2 separate regions of the Homo sapiens genome follow, and region 2 is linked to region 1. The links are contacts of gene promoters, found by promoter capture Hi-C in blood cells and fetal thymus (Javierre and others, 2016). All regions are on one chromosome and are shown on one strand. Each heading gives the region's core, a stretch centred on a gene start or on the middle of the fragment in contact. The rest is flanking DNA. Distances are from core to core; before and after follow the strand shown. Region 1 holds the start of UBE3D (ubiquitin protein ligase E3D). Region 2 overlaps EEF1A1 (eukaryotic translation elongation factor 1 alpha 1).

The links. Contacts are between HindIII fragments. The CHiCAGO score rates a contact against its expected background, and 5 or more counts as called.
Region 2: a contact is called between a fragment that was not itself captured here and the fragment with the promoter of UBE3D in region 1, in 1 of 17 cell types (total CD4 T cells). The highest score is 6.1, in total CD4 T cells.

Annotation. Positions count from the first base shown.
Region 1 is chr6:83,063,962-83,067,983 of GRCh38, reverse strand. It overlaps UBE3D (ubiquitin protein ligase E3D), which reads left to right and starts at 2,143. Exons shown (of 10, transcript NM_198920.3): 1 at 2,143-2,342. The coding sequence starts at 2,266. DOP1A (DOP1 leucine zipper like protein A) reads right to left here and starts at 313. Exons shown (of 39, transcript NM_015018.4): 1 at 205-313. RefSeq lists a silencer at 1-84 and enhancers at 255-404, 435-504. The HindIII fragment of the contact is 10,412 bases long and covers 1-2,487 here.
Region 2 is chr6:73,515,130-73,519,151 of GRCh38, reverse strand. EEF1A1 (eukaryotic translation elongation factor 1 alpha 1) reads left to right here. Exons shown (of 8, transcript NM_001402.6): 4 at 1-220; 5 at 304-454; 6 at 542-798; 7 at 888-1,122; 8 at 1,218-3,402. The coding sequence ends at 1,342. Among named protein-coding and RNA genes, the nearest start is that of EEF1A1, 3.9 kb to the left of the region's middle. RefSeq lists a silencer at 3,532-3,826. The HindIII fragment of the contact is 197 bases long and covers 1,918-2,114 here.

The sequences.
Region 1 (4,022 bases), core at 894-3,393:
CCGCGCAGCTCCCGACTCCCCGTAAACCAGAGGGCGGCCGACCAGCTTCGCAGCTCCTGGCGGGGCCGGAGCGGCAACACCCCCGACGCCACAGCAGTCAGACTCGCAAGGCGTCCCCGCGGCTCAGGACCTAGCCGGGCCGAGAAGGATGCTCGGAGCCGGCTACCAGCCTAGCGGCCGCACTGGGGGCAGGGACGCTTTTACCTGCTGCTGGCTCGGCCGCTTCTCGCCGGCGCAGCTCTCCTGGCAACCACGGCAGCTACACCGAGACCGGGAGCCGAAGGGCCTAGTGACAGCTCCCAGAGTGCACCGTGCTCGCGCCCACGCCGGCGTCGACGTCTGAGGCCTTCGATCCCCGCCCCCGATCGGCTTCCTGCCTCCCGGCGCTAGCTGTTGCCACAGCGCCCTCAAGTGGACTGTCGCGGGAAGCGGCCATGGCTACCAATTTCAGGAGTGGCTAGAAAGGGGGTTAGCAGATGTTTTCATTTGAAGAGATAATAGGAACTGAAAACAGCTTTTAAATATTATTTGAATAGTTTCTCAATATTTCATATGAGTAACCTGCATCCCAGAGAGGTTAGGAGACTTGTGAAGTTAGGAGACAAGTAGTTGGTGTCAGATTTGGAACTATTTTGAGTCTAGAGCTCTATCAATCATATCTAGTTACTCCAAGGTAAATTGCACCGTTTTGCCAACACCATACCGTAAAAAAATGAAAGTTTTTACAAATACGTAACTAAATATATAAAAATCTTTTAAGCTAACAAAACAATTATAAAGAGTAAGTTGTGCTACGGAAGTTGTATATTTCAATATAATGTGTCAATATTTAAGCATTCAATAGCCTCGGGTACTAAAGGTGGAAGATATGAAGAGTTGAAATCATCATCCTTCAAATAGATGAATTATTTGAGACCAAATAATAGTAAACTTTATTTTTTTAAGTGAGTTGTTGCTTCCATCTATAACTTCAAATTATTGTGATAGATATAATAATTTGTGCATCAACATAATAAACTTTAATCACCCCAAATACTGATTTTAGAAAAATTGTCAAGCTATTATCTTAAAATATATGACAGGATTTATTTATTTAGAATTTATTTATGGTTTAGGCTGGGCATGGTGGCTCACACCTGTAATCTCAGCACTTTGGGAGGCCAAGGTGGGCGGATCTACCAAAAACAGAAAAATTAGCCGGGCATGGTGGCGCGTGCGCCTGTAATCCCAGCTACTCGGGAGGCTGAAGCAGGAGAATCGCTTGAACCCAGGAGGCAGAGGTTGCAGTGAGCCGAGATCGCGCCACTGCACTCCAGCCTTGGCGACAGAGCGAGACTCCGAAAAAAAATAAATAAATAAAAGCAGCTCCTTGTTTTTAAGAAGCCCTATTGTAATTCTACCCGGTCTTATATTTTAATAGTTCTTCATTATAAGTATTTACATTATACCAGGTTCTTTACTGTGTCAAACTTTTCAAAACTATCTTCTGGTAGTAAACTTCTCCAACTTCTCTTAGTTTTTACTTTTGTGAAAGTGAATAGTGGAGCTGTACATACGTAATCATTCTCATCTTCCTTTTTTACCCCCTAAAAAATGGTTAGTCCTGATAGACTTCAGCCACACTCTTCTGCATTAGGTAACAAAGAACTTCCTTATATTTTTGCACCTGTTTCAATTTTGGAGCTATCCTGTCTAAGTTGAGAAGCAATGGCAAGTCAATTCTTGAAAATTTTGTCGCTTTAGATAGAGGCTAACAAACGACCCTTGTTCATAAAGAGACCAAGATAAAGTGGGTTTGGGGCCGGGAATTCTGTTCTTGCATCTCCTGGGGACAAAGCCCACCTGTAACACTTGCCTCCATCATCTCCCTCCCTTCGAGCTAGCCAAAGGTGTGAACCCTGGGTCTGATTTTTATGGTCATTTCCAGGGATGCTAACGCGCCAAGTCACGCTCATAAGAAGCAGAGTGGGGCGATAGCTAGCCTCTCGCCGCCCACCTTTCTCAGCACTCTGGGCCAAAGCCTGGTTTTGAAAATGCGCGCCCCGCCCCGGCCTCCGGGGTCACGCGCCTTCTCGGTGGTGCACTCTCCGGCCGGCAGGTGGCGCTGTGAGCTGGTAGGCGGCGCCAGCCCTGCGATCTGGCACAGGCGCCTGCGCCGCAGCGGGGCTGCCGCTGGTTGGTCCGCACGTGGAACCTCTCCTGGTCCTGTTGACCCGGGCCCCTCGGAACCTCCAGCTTGGTCCGGTCTGGGACTGGAAGCCTGCCATGGCGGCTTCTGCGGCGGAGACGCGCGTGTTTCTGGAGGTGCGGGGACAGCTGCAGAGCGCGCTTCTGATCCTGGGGTAAGAACTGGGATTCTAGGCGCAGTGCCCAGCTCGCTTTACTGCTGCCCGGGGGTCGGGGGCTGGTGAGTCTCTCTCTGTACGAGGGATTTTGAGTTTCTTCTTTCCAGTTGCGTAGAGCCTCTCGATCACTCAAAGTGAAGCTTTCCCCTGTAGTCGGCTCCGCCACTCCCACCCCTACTGACAGTGTGGGTATCTTTGGGGAGCTTTTTAGAAATTCAGGGTCTCAGCTCCACACCAGACTTATGGAATCAAAACTTATATTTTAACAAGATTTCCAGGAATCAAATGCACATTAAAATTTGAGGAACAGTGATGTAAAACACTGTTGGCAGTGCCCGGCGTTTCCAACAAAACAATGCAAAAAATGATTTGTCTGTCTCTCTTCGGGATCCTCCTTACTGGATCAGTTCCTATGTGAGCTTCTTGTTTTGTAAATAACCTCGGGTCTTTTCGTCCAAAACTGCTCTTTGCAGAGAAACCACACAATCATTCAATAAACGTGAGTTTAGTGAACCACTAAGACAGGTTGTAGACTTCTTACTGGAGCTCGTTCATTTATTCATATTCTTCCTTCCAGTGAGAACGTCAAACTTGTTATTCGCTACACAAATAACTTTTAGGAAAAATGTTCTCTATTTTGTTTGACAGCAGTTTTAATGATTTGTGGTCCCCTTGTCTATTCCTTTGTGATCGCTGTTTCAAAGAGAGTAAGTTAGAAGTTAAAATCCTGAGAATGGTATTACACGGTGCCACAGGTAGATTGATGCTTAATTTTTTCCTCTTCCCTAAATCTGCCAGATATCTGGTGTGGCAATTTGGAATATGGCGTGAGAACTGAGTTCAAATGCTAGCTTCCTCACGAAATTAGAATAATTTAATCTGAATTTCTTCAATCTTGAAATGGGAATAATAGTACTCTGAATGTATTTCTTTTTCTCTTTCAAAATTTATGAATTTGGACAAATATCTCCAATTCTGGTGCACCTTGTAGAGTAATTAGGAACCCAAACCCTACCAAAATAAAACAAAAACCACACACACACAACAAACCCTCCCTTCCTCTCATGCAGGGGCCTTTCACAGTTCCCTTGGACTACTCTCCTTTGTTTAGGCAAGGTACCCGGGTGGCTCATGCCTGTAATCCCAGCACATTGGGAGGCTGAGGCGGGCGGATCACGAGGTCAAGAGATCAAGACCATCCTGGCCAACATGGTGAAACCCTGTCTCTACTAAAAATACAAAAATTAGCTGGGTGTGGTGGCGCGCACCTTTAGTCAGTCCCAGCTACTCAGGAGGCTGAGGCAGGAGAATGGAGTGAACCCGGGAGGCGGAGGTTGCAGTGAGCTGAGATCGCGCCACTGCAGTTCAGCCTGGCAACAGAAAGAGACTCCGTCTCAAAAAATAAAAAATAAAAAGAAAAAAAAAGAAACCTAACTTTGCTGGACTTAGTTTTGCCATTTCTTGAACTACTTATAAATGGATTCATACAATATATACTTTTTTGTTTCTGGCTGCATTCCTTCCATAATATTTTTCAGATTCACGTTCCATCTATGTGGCTGCATATATCAGTAGTCCATTCCTTTTTCTTGCTAAGTTTTCCATTGTATGAATATACCACAATTCATTTATCTGTTCTCCTATTGCTGGATGTTTTTCTTGTTTCTGGAGTTTGCT
Region 2 (4,022 bases), core at 767-3,266, 9.5 Mb after region 1:
AGAGCATGCCCTTCTGGCTTACACACTGGGTGTGAAACAACTAATTGTCGGTGTTAACAAAATGGATTCCACTGAGCCACCCTACAGCCAGAAGAGATATGAGGAAATTGTTAAGGAAGTCAGCACTTACATTAAGAAAATTGGCTACAACCCCGACACAGTAGCATTTGTGCCAATTTCTGGTTGGAATGGTGACAACATGCTGGAGCCAAGTGCTAACGTAAGTGGCTTTCAAGACCATTGTTAAAAAGCTCTGGGAATGGCGATTTCATGCTTACACAAATTGGCATGCTTGTGTTTCAGATGCCTTGGTTCAAGGGATGGAAAGTCACCCGTAAGGATGGCAATGCCAGTGGAACCACGCTGCTTGAGGCTCTGGACTGCATCCTACCACCAACTCGTCCAACTGACAAGCCCTTGCGCCTGCCTCTCCAGGATGTCTACAAAATTGGTGGTAAGTTGGCTGTAAACAAAGTTGAATTTGAGTTGATAGAGTACTGTCTGCCTTCATAGGTATTTAGTATGCTGTAAATATTTTTAGGTATTGGTACTGTTCCTGTTGGCCGAGTGGAGACTGGTGTTCTCAAACCCGGTATGGTGGTCACCTTTGCTCCAGTCAACGTTACAACGGAAGTAAAATCTGTCGAAATGCACCATGAAGCTTTGAGTGAAGCTCTTCCTGGGGACAATGTGGGCTTCAATGTCAAGAATGTGTCTGTCAAGGATGTTCGTCGTGGCAACGTTGCTGGTGACAGCAAAAATGACCCACCAATGGAAGCAGCTGGCTTCACTGCTCAGGTAACAATTTAAAGTAACATTAACTTATTGCAGAGGCTAAAGTCATTTGAGACTTTGGATTTGCACTGAATGCAAATCTTTTTTCCAAGGTGATTATCCTGAACCATCCAGGCCAAATAAGCGCCGGCTATGCCCCTGTATTGGATTGCCACACGGCTCACATTGCATGCAAGTTTGCTGAGCTGAAGGAAAAGATTGATCGCCGTTCTGGTAAAAAGCTGGAAGATGGCCCTAAATTCTTGAAGTCTGGTGATGCTGCCATTGTTGATATGGTTCCTGGCAAGCCCATGTGTGTTGAGAGCTTCTCAGACTATCCACCTTTGGGTAAGGATGACTACTTAAATGTAAAAAAGTTGTGTTAAAGATGAAAAATACAACTGAACAGTACTTTGGGTAATAATTAACTTTTTTTTTAATAGGTCGCTTTGCTGTTCGTGATATGAGACAGACAGTTGCGGTGGGTGTCATCAAAGCAGTGGACAAGAAGGCTGCTGGAGCTGGCAAGGTCACCAAGTCTGCCCAGAAAGCTCAGAAGGCTAAATGAATATTATCCCTAATACCTGCCACCCCACTCTTAATCAGTGGTGGAAGAACGGTCTCAGAACTGTTTGTTTCAATTGGCCATTTAAGTTTAGTAGTAAAAGACTGGTTAATGATAACAATGCATCGTAAAACCTTCAGAAGGAAAGGAGAATGTTTTGTGGACCACTTTGGTTTTCTTTTTTGCGTGTGGCAGTTTTAAGTTATTAGTTTTTAAAATCAGTACTTTTTAATGGAAACAACTTGACCAAAAATTTGTCACAGAATTTTGAGACCCATTAAAAAAGTTAAATGAGAAACCTGTGTGTTCCTTTGGTCAACACCGAGACATTTAGGTGAAAGACATCTAATTCTGGTTTTACGAATCTGGAAACTTCTTGAAAATGTAATTCTTGAGTTAACACTTCTGGGTGGAGAATAGGGTTGTTTTCCCCCCACATAATTGGAAGGGGAAGGAATATCATTTAAAGCTATGGGAGGGTTGCTTTGATTACAACACTGGAGAGAAATGCAGCATGTTGCTGATTGCCTGTCACTAAAACAGGCCAAAAACTGAGTCCTTGTGTTGCATAGAAAGCTTCATGTTGCTAAACCAATGTTAAGTGAATCTTTGGAAACAAAATGTTTCCAAATTACTGGGATGTGCATGTTGAAACGTGGGTTAAAATGACTGGGCAGTGAAAGTTGACTATTTGCCATGACATAAGAAATAAGTGTAGTGGCTAGTGTACACCCTATGAGTGGAAGGGTCCATTTTGAAGTCAGTGGAGTAAGCTTTATGCCAGTTTGATGGTTTCACAAGTTCTATTGAGTGCTATTCAGAATAGGAACAAGGTTCTAATAGAAAAAGATGGCAATTTGAAGTAGCTATAAAATTAGACTAATCTACATTGCTTTTCTCCTGCAGAGTCTAATACCTTTTATGCTTTGATAATTAGCAGTTTGTCTACTTGGTCACTAGGAATGAAACTACATGGTAATAGGCTTAACAGGTGTAATAGCCCACTTACTCCTGAATCTTTAAGCATTTGTGCATTTGAAAAATGCTTTTCGCGATCTTCCTGCTGGGATTACAGGCATGAGCCACTGTGCCTGACCTCCCATATGTAAAAGTGTCTAAAGGTTTTTTTTTGGTTATAAAAGGAAAATTTTTGCTTAAGTTTGAAGGATAGGTAAAATTAAAGGACATGCTTTCTGTTTGTGTGATGGTTTTTAAAAATTTTTTTTAAGATGGAGTTCTTGTTGCCCAGGCTAGAATGCAATGGCAAAATCTCACTGCAATCTCCTCCTCCTGGGTTCAAGCAATTCTCCTACTTCAGCCTCCCAAGTAGCTGGGATTACAGGCATGTGCTAATTTGGTGTTTTTAATAGAGATGAGGTTTTTCCATGTTGGTCAGGCTGGTCTCAAACTCCTGACCTTAGGTGATCGCCTCGGCCTCCTAAAGTGCTGGAATTACAGGCATGAGCCACCATGCCTGGCCAGGACATGTGTTCTTAAGGACATGCTAAGCAGGAGTTAAAGCAGCCCAAGAGATAAGGCCTCTTAAAGTGACTGGCAATGTGTATTGCTCAAGATTCAAAGGTACTTGAATTGGCCATAGACAAGTCTGTAATGAAGTGTTATCGTTTTCCCTCATCTGAGTCTGAATTAGATAAAATGCCTTCCCATCAGCCAGTGCTCTGAGGTATCAAGTCTAAATTGAACTAGAGATTTTTGTCCTTAGTTTCTTTGCTATCTAATGTTTACACAAGTAAATAGTCTAAGATTTGCTGGATGACAGAAAAAACAGGTAAGGCCTTTAATAGATGGCCAATAGATGCCCTGATAATGAAAGTTGACACCTGTAAGATTTACCAGTAGAGAATTCTTGACATGCAAGGAAGCAAGATTTAACTGAAAAATTGTTCCCACTGGAAGCAGGAATGAGTCAGTTTACTTGCATATACTGAGATTGAGATTAACTTCCTGTGAAACCCAGTGTCTTAGACAACTGTGGCTTGAGCACCACCTGCTGGTATTCATTACAAACTTGCTCACTACAATAAATGAATTTTAAGCTTTAAGATGAAGTGGCATTTCTTTTAACAGTTACTATGTTGGAATTGGTTACAAATTTTGGAGTGGATTTCAAAAGTGAGAGCTAACTTCAGTTGATTTCAAGGTAGTGCTTGGCTTTTTTTGTTTAGACAGGGTTTTACTCCTGCCCTGGTTGGAGTGGAAGTTAACGGCTAACTGCAGTCCTGACTTCTGGGCTTAAGTGATCTTCCCTGAATAGCAGGGACCACAGGTTTTTGCCACCACGCCTGGCTAATTTTTGTATTTTGCCATGTTGCCAAGGCTGGTCAACTCCTGGGCTCAAGTGATCTGCCTGTACTGTATCTTTCCCAGTTAATCTGATATTTATCTTTTAAATCTCAGATGTGCCAGGGCCTCGGCAGTGACTCAAGGAAGAACCCATGTGCTCTTAGTGGGACACGATTTGTTCAGACCTACTAACCTCAACCCAGTTTCAGTTCTTTATAGTGGAGAATGTTGACAGTTTACACTGACAGGCCACATTTTAGCATTGTGTTATCTTCATGGTTTTTTTTCTTTTGAGATGAAGTTCCAAACTTAGTAACTTACCATTTACTTTTTAGTGTAATTCTAAAAGATTTCATTCAGCTAGAACTACCCTGATATT